Linked DNA regions of Homo sapiens: region 2 is linked to region 1. Evidence: promoter capture Hi-C in 16 types of primary human blood cells and fetal thymus (Javierre and others, 2016). All regions are on one chromosome and are shown on one strand. The core of a region is centred on a gene start or on the middle of the fragment in contact, and the rest is flanking DNA. Distances in the headings are between cores, read along the strand shown. Region 1 holds the start of LINC02086 (long intergenic non-protein coding RNA 2086). Region 2 holds the start of CDK5RAP3 (CDK5 regulatory subunit associated protein 3).

Region 1 (5,450 bases), core at 1,183-3,682:
GGAGGTCCCCCAGGATAGTCAGGGGTCACATGCTGTTTATCTCTTACAAACAAGATTACTAAAATATTAGGGAGCAAATCCTTCCCCTTTAAGTTCAGCATTTGGTATTCCCCAGCCTCTAACCTTGGCTAAATCAGCCCCAAGTAGAGCTGGGTCCCTGAGGAAATGGAATAAGTGAGTCAATAAGGGACACAAAGGAACATTCTATTGCCCAGTCCCCATTTGCTTGACTTATAGGCAGCTTTAGTTAGGAGGCTGTTTCCAGATAGTCTTCCCTTCCAGGAGTTCTGGTATGGTTTTTAGTCCCTGGGAAGCTGCTTAAGCCTGATTTCCTTCCATTGCTGGTCCAACTGCTGGCCAGTCTAAGATCAGCTTTCCCCAGCAAAGCTCTTCCCACGTTCTCAGGCTCCCAGCTGCTGGGAAGGAAAGACTGACTCCCACTGGGAGCCCAGACCCTACAGGTAATGGTGGGGAGAGGACACTGCCACCGGAGTGTTTTTACAGGTGAAGGCTGGCCTGGCAAAATGGAGATGTCAGCCAAGAGAAAGGGTGAAGACCTACGTAAACTGACTATATTTGGCCTCGGCATTTCCCAGACACCAGCTCCTTTGATCTATCCAAATTGTAGTTGTTAACTTGGTGTCTGAGGAGTCTGAAACTCTCTGAAATTGTGGGATTTGGTGAGTACTACATACGCACATTTTTTTTCTGGGTAGAGGGGAATCAATATTGTTCATCAAAATTTAAATTATCATATCAGGGAGTGGCCCCAAAATGTTAAGAACCTCTCATCCACCATTCTTACACAACCAACCAAAAATGTAATGCAGAGGGAGGCATTGTAATATACTTGGGGATCTGACAAGACAAATTAAAAGGACAAACAATTTATTGTTCCACAAGGTTGAACAGATACTGTCACCTGGACTTCTTGGAACACCAGGAACCAGGTCACAGGTGCTGGGGACTCTTAGACTGAGACCAGTCAGGCCACAACACCCAATCACTACCTCCTCCATATTTGCCTGTGCAGACAAGGAGTATGCAAGGTCTCTGTGTCTCTAATTAAATTAATATGGAGCTTTTATCCACTGGGGCCTGGACCTTCCGCCATTTGTCACCTTGTCCAAAGCTATCTCATACCGAAAGAGAATTGAACGTTTCAGGAAACACTTCCCCTTTGCAAATGCCCTTCTCTTGGGGAATGGGTATAGTGTCCAAATCTCCAGCTCCCACCATTTCTAGCCAGCCCTGAGGAATTGTCTGAGACCCGGGAGCCCAGAGATCATCAGCGGGGGCCAACAGCCATGACCTTTGAGTTTTCTTGGCCGCTGGGCCACAGAAAGGGTGCAAGAGGCAGCTGGACAGGTAGACAGAAGTAGGCACAAAGAAAGGGGCCCTGGACGGTTGCCAGAGAAAAGACGGAGAATGACAAAGAGAGAAGTGAAATAGCTGGACTGGAGGCGGGAACTGGAGCGCAGCAGGCAGGTGGAGTGGCCAAAACCCGCGTGCTAAGAAGAGCCCACAGGGGCGGCAGGGGCGGCAGGGGCGGCAGAGGCGGCCAGGCGCGTCTCCGTTCCCCATCTTTACGGGGAGGTTAATGACCTCCTCAGCGCCCCCTCGTCCCAAACCACCCAATTACAACTCCTCAGGCTCCTTAATGATCTGATTAATTGGTTGGTTAGGGCGGATGGAGGTGCTTCTCTGCCGGGGACCTGGCGGGGTTTCGCTAGATCATTTGTTAATTGTGGGAAGGAAGGACGCATCCGGGGAGAGGAGATCCAGGGCTGGAAAAGTGGGTGAGCGGCGCTGGCGCAGGCGGCCAGGAGAGAGCAGATGAACCGTTCGTTAGGAGCAGCGAGGTAGTCGTGAGCGCTGAGATCCAGAGACTAGGACCCACTCCCTCTCTGAGCAGCAAATTGGGAAGAAGATGCTCACTCGGTAAGGGCGAGGGAGCCCGGCATGGCGCCCCACCACGGGCTCGGTCTATCTGCGCGCCAAGATCCCGCTTGGGGCGAGGCGTTGGGTCAGCGTTTAGAGCCACTCCCTGCGCTGGTGGCTGGACATAGCCTCCCTATCCCACCTCATCTTCCCCCATCCCCGACAGAGGAGGTTGTGAATCTACAGGCCCTTGACGTTGAGGCGTCGGAGGGCGCACCTTTGTAATTGCGGCCTCCCTTCGCCCCTTAAGTGCCGCTTCTGGGCGCCTAGGCTGGATATGAAAGCCCCGTTCCTAATCCTCTGCTCTGGTCCCCTCCTCTGGACTGCTGGGACTCTAAGCTAGGCCCTCCCCAGGTTCCATCACTGCGGCGCCAACCCGCGGCTGGGCTGTCCGCAAGAGGGAGTTGAAGGCGCGCGGAATCCCGAGGTGCAGCTGACCCTCCTCTCAACGCCGACTCTGCCGCTCCCGCCCGGCCACCTCCCTGTCGGGCAGACTTCCTGTTCTCCTGCTCACAGCAGGGAGGCAGTCGCCGAGCCGGTCAGCAGCGTGCACGGAGATCTTCACTCTGCGCCCAGCCCCGGGACACAGGTGCAGATCTCCAGCGGAGCACTGCGGAGTGCGCGCCGTCGAGCACTAGGGAATCCTAGACGGAGGACTTGGTCCATTCCACGCAGTCCCAGGCAGGTCCGCAGCGGAGGGACGCAGCGGTCTCCAACTCCTGGTCACGACTTCGGCGACCCTCCACCCCCTGAGAGACCTGGTCCCACGGAGCTGTCCCCCCAGGAGCCGCAGCGGGAATAGCAAAGCAAAGGGGACCACTCAGCCCCCAGGAGGAGCCCTGAAGCAAAAAGGTTGCTGCGGGGAGCCACGTTCCCTCTGGTTCACCTCGAAGCCCAGGAGCTCCGGTCCCTGGACCAAGGAGTGAACAGACCTGAGGAAGAGGTAAGAGGAGGTTTAACGAGTAAAAATTTGGACTCTCTCCTCTTATACTGCTTTAAAGCATGAGGAATTTGGGCCCTGACTTCTCTCTCCTTGAAGAAGTTTCTCGCGTTCTGGCCAGTCCTTGCGTGTCTGCACCCAGGGCCGGCAACAATTTAAGGAGGAACTTTACTGGGTGGTCGAGGCTTGAGAGTTCATAGTTACCTTTTAAAAAAATCATTACTATTACTTAATATCTAGGTTATTTTGGACTGAGCCCCCATCTTCGCTCCAGCCCAAATTCGGCCTTTAACAGTACTAGGGAGTGCTTCAAAAGAGGAGGGTCGTGGAGGAAGCGACTCAGACGGCCCCAAGAGGAGAGATGGGAAGGAGTGAGGGCTTTGGCCTTAATGATCTCTGCAAGTTAAAGGCCATTATTCCTATAACTACAGCTGGGGAAAGGGCAGAGGAGGTAAGGACGGAAAGTGGGCTGAGGGTGGCCACTTTGGCATCTTCTTGAGAAAGGAGACATTTGAATTCCCGGCCCAACTAAAAGCCCTGAGATGCTTGCCCTTTGCTTTACAGACAGTGATGGCAAAGAAATACTGCCACCAGGGTGTTTTTAAAGGTGAAGGTTGACCTGATAAGCACTGAGATCAGACAAAGGAAAAAAAAAGTAAAGCATTTGGTCTTTCAGTTTTCTGGCTAAATCTGGCATCATTTTCCAGACACAAACTTCTCTGATTAATCCAAATAGCTCTCAACCTGAAGTTCAAGGAATTTGAAATCCTCTGAAATTGTGGGATTTCACAGTTCTAAAAGGAAGTCAGCTGTCACTTTCTGAGAAGCCCTGGGAGGGGAAGGAAGCAAGAGGAGGTATATGAGGAAAGGGGGTGAGAGGCCCCAGATCTAGCTCTCTAGACATTTAGTGCTGGACCCCCAAGCTCTGAAACTCAAGCTGACCCCATCTACACATTGCCAAACTGAGTAGAAAGTTGCAAGGCAGTCAAGGAGATAAATTTTATTTACTGCTTTAAGGATGAGTTTGGGTGTCTAAGCAGATTATAAATCTGGGTGTTTTCAGTATTTGTTTCTTTCTTTCAACTATTACTGATTTTTGGCCCAGAGTAGTTTCTGGGGCCCTTGGGGCAGTTAGGCAAGAGAGGGACTCAGACCTCCAGTCCCTTGATCTTGCCTTTACTTGGTGAAGAGCCCAAGATTCTCTACTGGCAGGCAAGGTCAGAACCAAGTTGGCCCTAGGCCTTGCCCCAACCCCCCAGCCCTCAGGACTCCTTTCTCTGAGACCAGGCCTCTGGCCAAACTGCAGACTCCCTCCACACCCGGTCACTGGAATAATGATGGCATTTTTGATTTCTCCCATTTTTGAAAACTATAGAAGCCCCAAGGAGGAAGGAGGTACCACTGGATCTTGGGGTGCTGGTGGGGGATTCTGGAATCAAATATCCTCTAAGCCTGTGAGGACAAGGTCTACTAGGATGACTTGGTGTCAATTACAGCTCTGAGTGCTGCCTGGATAGGTCAAATATTCCCTCCTTTCCCTCCTCATTCCTTCCGTTCAAGCCCAGAAAATTCACAGATTTTCTGTGTGGAGAGAGAGAAAAAAAATGGGCAAAACCTGGGAGTAAAAGGGAGATGAGGGAGAAGAAAATGAGGGAGAGAAACCAATAGACTAAAACAATGAAACTCTCTAACCCAACAGCACTTTAAGCTTGACTTTTAATCTGGCCAGAAAAAAAAAGAAGTTGGAGGCAGGGTGGGTGGGATGTGAAGTTCCCAGCCCAACAGATCCTCCTGTTGTCACGGGCTCTGTGCGTTCCCAGCTGGTGAGAACCCTGTCTGTCCTGGGGGTGGGAGGGATGTCCTGGGTCTTTCAAGTTGCAGTGTGGGGAGTGAGGCTCTTTCTAAGGGTCTCTGAGGTCTCCCACAACACCTTGCTTGGACTAGCAAAACCTTTCTTTGCATTTCCTCTGGGGCACTGTGTATGTGTATCCCTGTGTAGGGTGGTGTTCTAAACCACCGCAGAAGGTGAGCAATTCTCCTCCCAGCGAGCCAAAGGCTATATGTTTGGGGTGGAGGAGGCTTCATCCCTTCTGGACTGGAGAAATGGGGACTTGGAGCCAAGTGCGCCAGACTTTAGGGAAAGAGAGGAGCTCCAGCTCCAAAAGGGATTTGGAGGGAAGATCCTATCAGGAAAGGCCCCCCAGACTTGCTTCCTCAAAGGGTTAGGGAAGTGCACTGAGAAAAGAGAACTTTCACTTAACTCTTCTCCATTAGGCATCTTTGTGCTTCCATTTGTACTGGAAAGCACAGTCCTGGGCAGTCAGTTGCACATTCCGCCTCTGGTATGTGGACTATGTGAAATATACCATGCAATGTTCTACTTTGCGAGGGGGGAGGCATATAGATGAAAATATGAATTTCCCTTCTACTGCCTTTATTATTGAGCACAGTTGGGAGCACATAATTTCACATCTCTTTCGCATGTCTGTATAAATCCTCAATCTTTAAACGGTGCTTGACTACTCCGAGAGGCACAGTTGCTGTCATATAAGATTCCTAGCCGACTCCG
Region 2 (5,627 bases), core at 2,231-4,730, 670 kb before region 1:
GATGACTAAAGTCTCCTGAAGGAGATAGAGTCGATGCCCTGGATGCCAGACCAATTATGTGCTTATCTACCCACAGACCCTGAAGTTCCCTGTGGCCTTGGAAAAGTGCAGAAACCCGCCAAAGGCCCATGCTCCTACACTCTTTGGGAACACAGAAGCATGTGCCTTTGGCAGGCTCTCCCCCAGAGCCTCTGCAGTCAGCAGAGGCAGGTTCTCTCCCAGAGCCTCTGGCTTTGGGACAGCCTCCCTGGAGTCAGTAGCTGGGCAGAACTGTTCTCAAACATCCTTCTGCTCCACGTGAGTCACCTTGGGGAGCTGTGGGTGGGGCTGAAGTGCTGGTGGTCCCTGCTTCCATCAACTCACCTGGGCTGGGTCTTCCAGACCCACCCTGTCCTGTTCTGCCCAGCCTGTTGGTTCAAGGAAGAGAGATAGATACACCTTGAGGGCAGGGCAGTGCCTTGCTCTTGAGATGTCCCAGACAGCCCCGAGCACATAGTTGGGGCCCAGTTAAGTGTGTGTTTAATCATGGAGGAGCCTGAGCAATTCCTACAGTCTGAGTCAGGCTGACTCAGATGGGAGCCAAATTCCCATGAAAGATCCCTGAAAAGGCCCTTAATTCAGCTCTATGAGCCATTTTCAGAGCAGTTTTTCAATCCGTTCTATAATAATAATGATCATATATGACATATATATATATTTTGAGATGGAGTCTCACTCTGTTGCCCAGGCTGGAGTGCAGTGGCGCAATCTGGGCTCATTGCAACCTCCGCCTCCCAAGTTCAGGTGATTCTTCCGCCGCAGCCTCCCGAGTAGCTGAGTAGCTGGGACTGCAGGCATGCACCACCACGCCGGGATGGTTTTTGTTTTTGTTTGTTTGTTTGTTTTTTGTTTTGTTTTGTTTTTGAGATGGAGTCTCACTCTGTCGCCCAGGCTGGAGTGCGGTGGCGCAATATCGGCTCACTGCAACCTCCGCCTCCCGGGTTCAAGCAGTTCTCCTGCCTCAGCTTCCTGAGTAGCTGGGATTACAGGCGTACGCCACCACGCCCAGCTAATTTTTGTATTTTTAGTAGAGACAGGGTTTCACCATGTTGATCAGGCTGGTCTCAAACTCCTGACCTCGTGATCCACCCGCCTCAGCATCCCAAAGTGCCGAGATTACAGGCGTGAGCCACCGTGCCCAGCGTGTTTTTTGTTTTTTTCAGAGATGGGATTTCACCATGTTGATCAGGCTGGTCTCGAATTCCTGACCTTAGGTGATCCGCCTGTCTCAGCCTCCCAAAAGTGCTGGGATTACAGGCGTGAGCCACCGCGCCTGGCCCATATATGATATTTCATATAGGGAGAGTTTACAAAGCATGAGAAATACAGCCACAGTATGTTGTAAACTGTCATGAGTTACTAGTGTGTTTATTTAAGCCTCTAAACAGAAATACCCTGAGATAGGATAGCTGTTATCTCCATGTGGGGAAACTGTGGCTATCAGATAGGTTATAGAAATGGTCCAAGACCTCACTGGGCAGAATCTAGGTCTTCCTGCTGCTGTATCACACTATGCATTTCAATCAAAAATTTACTAAGCCTCAAGTGTTGTGCTGTGGTGAACAGGAGCTGGGGAAGGAATATTTAGAAATGGCATACCCAGGGCCGGGCGCGGTGGCTCACGCCTGTAATCCCAGCACTTTAGGAGGCTGAAGCGGGAGAATCACGAGGTCAGGAAATCGAGACCATCCTGGCTAACACGGTGAGACCTCGTCTCTACTAAAAATACAAAAAAATTAGCCGGGCGTGGTGGCGGGCGCCTGTAGTCCCAGCTACTGGGGAGGCTGAGGCAGGAGAATGGCGTGAACCCAGGAGGCAGAGCTTGCAGTGAGCCGAGATCGTGTCACTGCACTCCAGCCCGGGCGACAGAGCGTGACTCCGTCTCAAAAAAAAAAAAAAAAAAAAAAAAAAAAGAAAAGGCATACCCAGCGCTGTGAGATCCTGGGGGATCTGGCCTCAGCCTACCCTCCCTCCTTACTCTACCCACTTCTTGGCCAATCTCAGACTCTCCCTTAGCTTCAGCCACCACTCGGACCACAGATTAGCCAGCTTGTGACTCTCCAAGCTGTATCTCCAGCCCCGACAACTCCCTCGAACTCCAAAATTATAGACCCAAGTGCCTTCTGCACACTTTCCATCTGGGGGTCTCCCAGCATTGCCAGACTAGGTTCAAAGCTAGACCCCCTCCTCCCCAACACCTGCTCAGCATCCTGCATCCCTGTCTCAGGTGGTGGTTCCCACCTAATCACCTAGGTGTCATCCTTAGTGTCTCTCTCCTCCACCCAAACAGCCAATCAATTGCCAAGTCCTATACATTTTCCTCCTAAATATTCCTCAGATCCAGCCCTTCCCCTTCCTCCTCATATCTTGTGTCCCAGCTCAGGCTATAATCCCTCGATAACAACCTCCTTCCAGCCTCCTTGTCCCCAGTCTTATCTCCCATGCATCCATCATCCCAGCAGCCTATCTGTACAGGTTCCTCCCTGCCTCAAACCCCTTCTGTGATTCCTCTGTCTGAAGGGATGAAGTCCAAGTTCCTTAATAAGTCTCCCTTTGATATGGCCTTTCCACCCTTACAGCCTCTCCTCTAGCCACTCGCTGCCTCAAACCATCTACGGTATAGAGGTTGGCCTGCCCGCGGAGCCGACTTCATCTTGAAATTCTTCATCATTTTGTAACAAGCAGCTGTGCATTTCCATTTTGCACTGGACCTCACAAATTACGTTGCCCGTCCTGCCTGCCTGTTGTTGCTTGCACCCCTCTTGCAGTTTGTGGCCACCTAAGCTTTGTCTGTGTAGTCTCCTCCACCTAAAACTCCTCTTCCCACATCACCCAGCTATCTTCAGCTCTTCGTTTAGACTCAATGTAGGTGTTCTCTTTGGGACGTCTCACCGACTCTCTTCCTTCCCCTTCCCTGCCCTAATCGCCCAACACGTTGCAGGTGCTCAACCATGTCTATTAGAGAAACTGAATGAGGAGGCAAAGCATGACAAGTGCCACAAGAGACCTGCACACTGCTCTGGATGGTAAAGCGACGCAAGGAGGGAAGAAGGTATTTGCAACGGCCTCCCAGATCGGCGCTAGGACCCCGCCAGCAGACGTCTCAATCTGCGTGGAGAAGACCCAGTGCCCGCCAGGGGAAGCGGCTGCCAGGCTGGGCTCTCGAGCGCCGCCTGTCGCAATCCCACGGCCGCTGCAGCGCACCCCCTCCCGTCCCCTGCCCTGAGCCCGCCTCGCGTCTCCAATTGGCTGTCTCCATTCTCCCGCCCCTCCCGAGCTCAGCCATTCGGAGCCTGGGGTGGGCGGGGCTTGAGGCCTGAGTGGAGCGTAAACCCTGATTGGCTGTACGGAAGGCGGCGACGTGGCCGAAGGATGCCCGTTTGTGTCTAAACGGAGGCTCGGCCACAACGCCACTGGATTGGTGGTAGGGCGGGGCGGGCCACAGTCTCCAGCCTGAAGCGGAAGTGGAGGAAAGATGGAGGTGTGGGGACAGGAGCTGGGTGTGCTGGGGACTGGCCGCGGACCCCTAACCTGTGTCTCCGGTCTCCCTCCGGAAGCGGCTCAACCCAGCCCATCGCTCTGGCCCCGTTCTGGCCCTGCAGGGTGGTGGTTGGGACGTTGAAATGAGCGCGCGAGTGGTACGTCCTCTCTCCGCGCTCACGCCCCCCTCCTCACCGTGTTTCCCGCCAGGACCATCAGCACGTGCCCATCGACATCCAGACCAGCAAGCTGCTCGGTAGGAGGGGGCGCCACCGCGCAGCTGGCTGTCGGGGGGAGGCCTGTGCGTTGCCCCCTGTGTCCAATAGCCGGGAGCTCTGACCCCTGAAAGCCTGAGTCGAGATGCTGACCACTGGCCTCGTTCTATGCCCCATCTGTGGCCAGACCTGCTTCCCTGATAGCAGCGGGAACGAACCATATGTACAGTCTGTTTGACCTGCGTTTTCTCCTTTAATAACATATGTTATCGTATCATTCAGGGACAGGATAAATGACTCGCTTTAAAAACAGTCAACCACTGCCGGGCGCGGTGGCTCATGCCTGTAATCCCAGCACTTTGGGAGGCCGAGGTGGGCGAATCACCTGAGGTCAGGAGTTCGAGACCAGCCTGACCAACATGGAGAAACCTTGTCTCCATGTCTCCATGACTAAAAATACAAAAAAATAAAAATAAAAAGTAGCCGGGCATGGGAGCACATGCCTGTAATCCCAGCTACTCGGGAGGCTGAGGTGGGAGAATTGCTTGAACCCCGGAGGCAGAGGTTGCGGTGAGCAGAGATCTCACTATTGCACTCCAGCCTGGGCAACGAGAGCGAAACTCCATCTCAAAAAGAAGACAAAAAACAGTCAACCACTAAGTGGCACATCTGAATTGGAACTTAAGTCTGTCTGACCCACTGTCCATGCCTTTTGCATTATGCCAGGAAAAAAAAAAAAAACCTCATTTAAAAAGCTTCCACCTCCCCCTTGATTTTAGGAGGAAGAGGGACCTAAGACCCAGTTGCAAATGAAAACCTTTTAGTGTCCAGGCCATCTCCAGGTTGTCTGTATGGGGCTTACATACTTCCTCCCCAGTTCATAGTCAGGGAAGGCCTCTTCATCTGATCACACAGCTCCTGGCATTTTAAAATGCTTATTGGATTCATGGATTTGATGCCAATCTTGTCCTTAAGATGGTGTCTGTTTGACTACCCCAGTCCGTTGCTTCTAGTTCTGTGACATCAACAGAATTTTTCTTTCTGAAAACTTTACAGGAATATAGCAGAGAGAGTATAACTGATACTAGTGTGGGACCCCAGCGTTTGACCGGTTGGCAGAGTTCAAGTTCTGAATTCACCACTCTGTAGTGCCATTTAGTCAGTCCTGCTTGGTGGTCACGGGGGAAGCTTCTTTAGCCTCCCTTCAGATTTGTACTGGCCCTTCAGCCCATGTGCAGTCTTGGTGTGTGAGCTTGTTCTTGGTCATGAAAAGGACCAATAAAATGACCACCATTCATTGAGGGTTTTTTTTTGTACCAGGTGCTGTTTTAGGCACTTGACATGATAAAAATGATCACTGTCATTTTTTGAGTCCTTGCCGTGTCTCAGGCACACTGTTCAGTGTTTTACCTGCATTCCCTTTTCTAGTCAGTGTCTTATTATTCCCCATTTTACATGTGGGAAAACTGAGGCACAGAATAGTAGACTTGCTCAAGAAACTTGATAACGAGAACCCAGGACCATCTGACCACAAAGCTCAGCTCTTAGCTCTCACTGAGGAAATATGCATGGCTCTGAAGCCACAAATCTGGGCCCAGACTTTGAGAGGTCAGTCCCATTGGTATTCACATGTACAGGGTGGTACTTCACTGTTCACAACAGAGTCATGTTATCTAGTCCTTAGGGCGCTGTAGGTATTAGGGGCTTTGCAGCTGTTCATTCATCCAGTACTTGGCATAACCATCTTGTATTTTCCATTGTCATGGTTAACCCCAGCCCTGAGGAAATGGAAGTTGAGCAGCATCCTCTTGTCAGGAAGAAAGATATAATTACCCATAGAAGCAAAAATATTATGGGGAATTGAGAATGGTCAAAAGTGGCACTTTCAGGACC

What was found. Contacts are between HindIII fragments. The CHiCAGO score rates a contact against its expected background, and 5 or more counts as called.
Region 2: a contact is called between the fragment with the promoter of CDK5RAP3 here and the fragment with the promoter of LINC02086 in region 1, in 4 of 17 cell types (non-activated CD4 T cells, naive CD8 T cells, neutrophils and 1 more). The highest score is 6.2, in non-activated CD4 T cells.

What each region holds. Positions count from the first base shown.
Region 1 is chr17:48,640,195-48,645,644 of GRCh38, forward strand. LINC02086 (long intergenic non-protein coding RNA 2086) reads left to right here and starts at 2,433. Exons shown (of 8, transcript NR_189645.1): 1 at 2,433-5,450. The region is part of intron 1 of LINC03057 (long intergenic non-protein coding RNA 3057); the gene reads right to left. RefSeq lists enhancers at 1,032-2,030, 2,031-3,027. The HindIII fragment of the contact is 12,737 bases long and covers 1-4,587 here.
Region 2 is chr17:47,967,633-47,973,259 of GRCh38, forward strand. CDK5RAP3 (CDK5 regulatory subunit associated protein 3) reads left to right here and starts at 3,481. Exons shown (of 14, transcript NM_176096.3): 1 at 3,481-3,520; 2 at 3,730-3,775. The coding sequence starts at 3,515. RefSeq lists a silencer at 3,132-3,421 and an enhancer at 3,843-4,470. The HindIII fragment of the contact is 1,666 bases long and covers 2,822-4,487 here.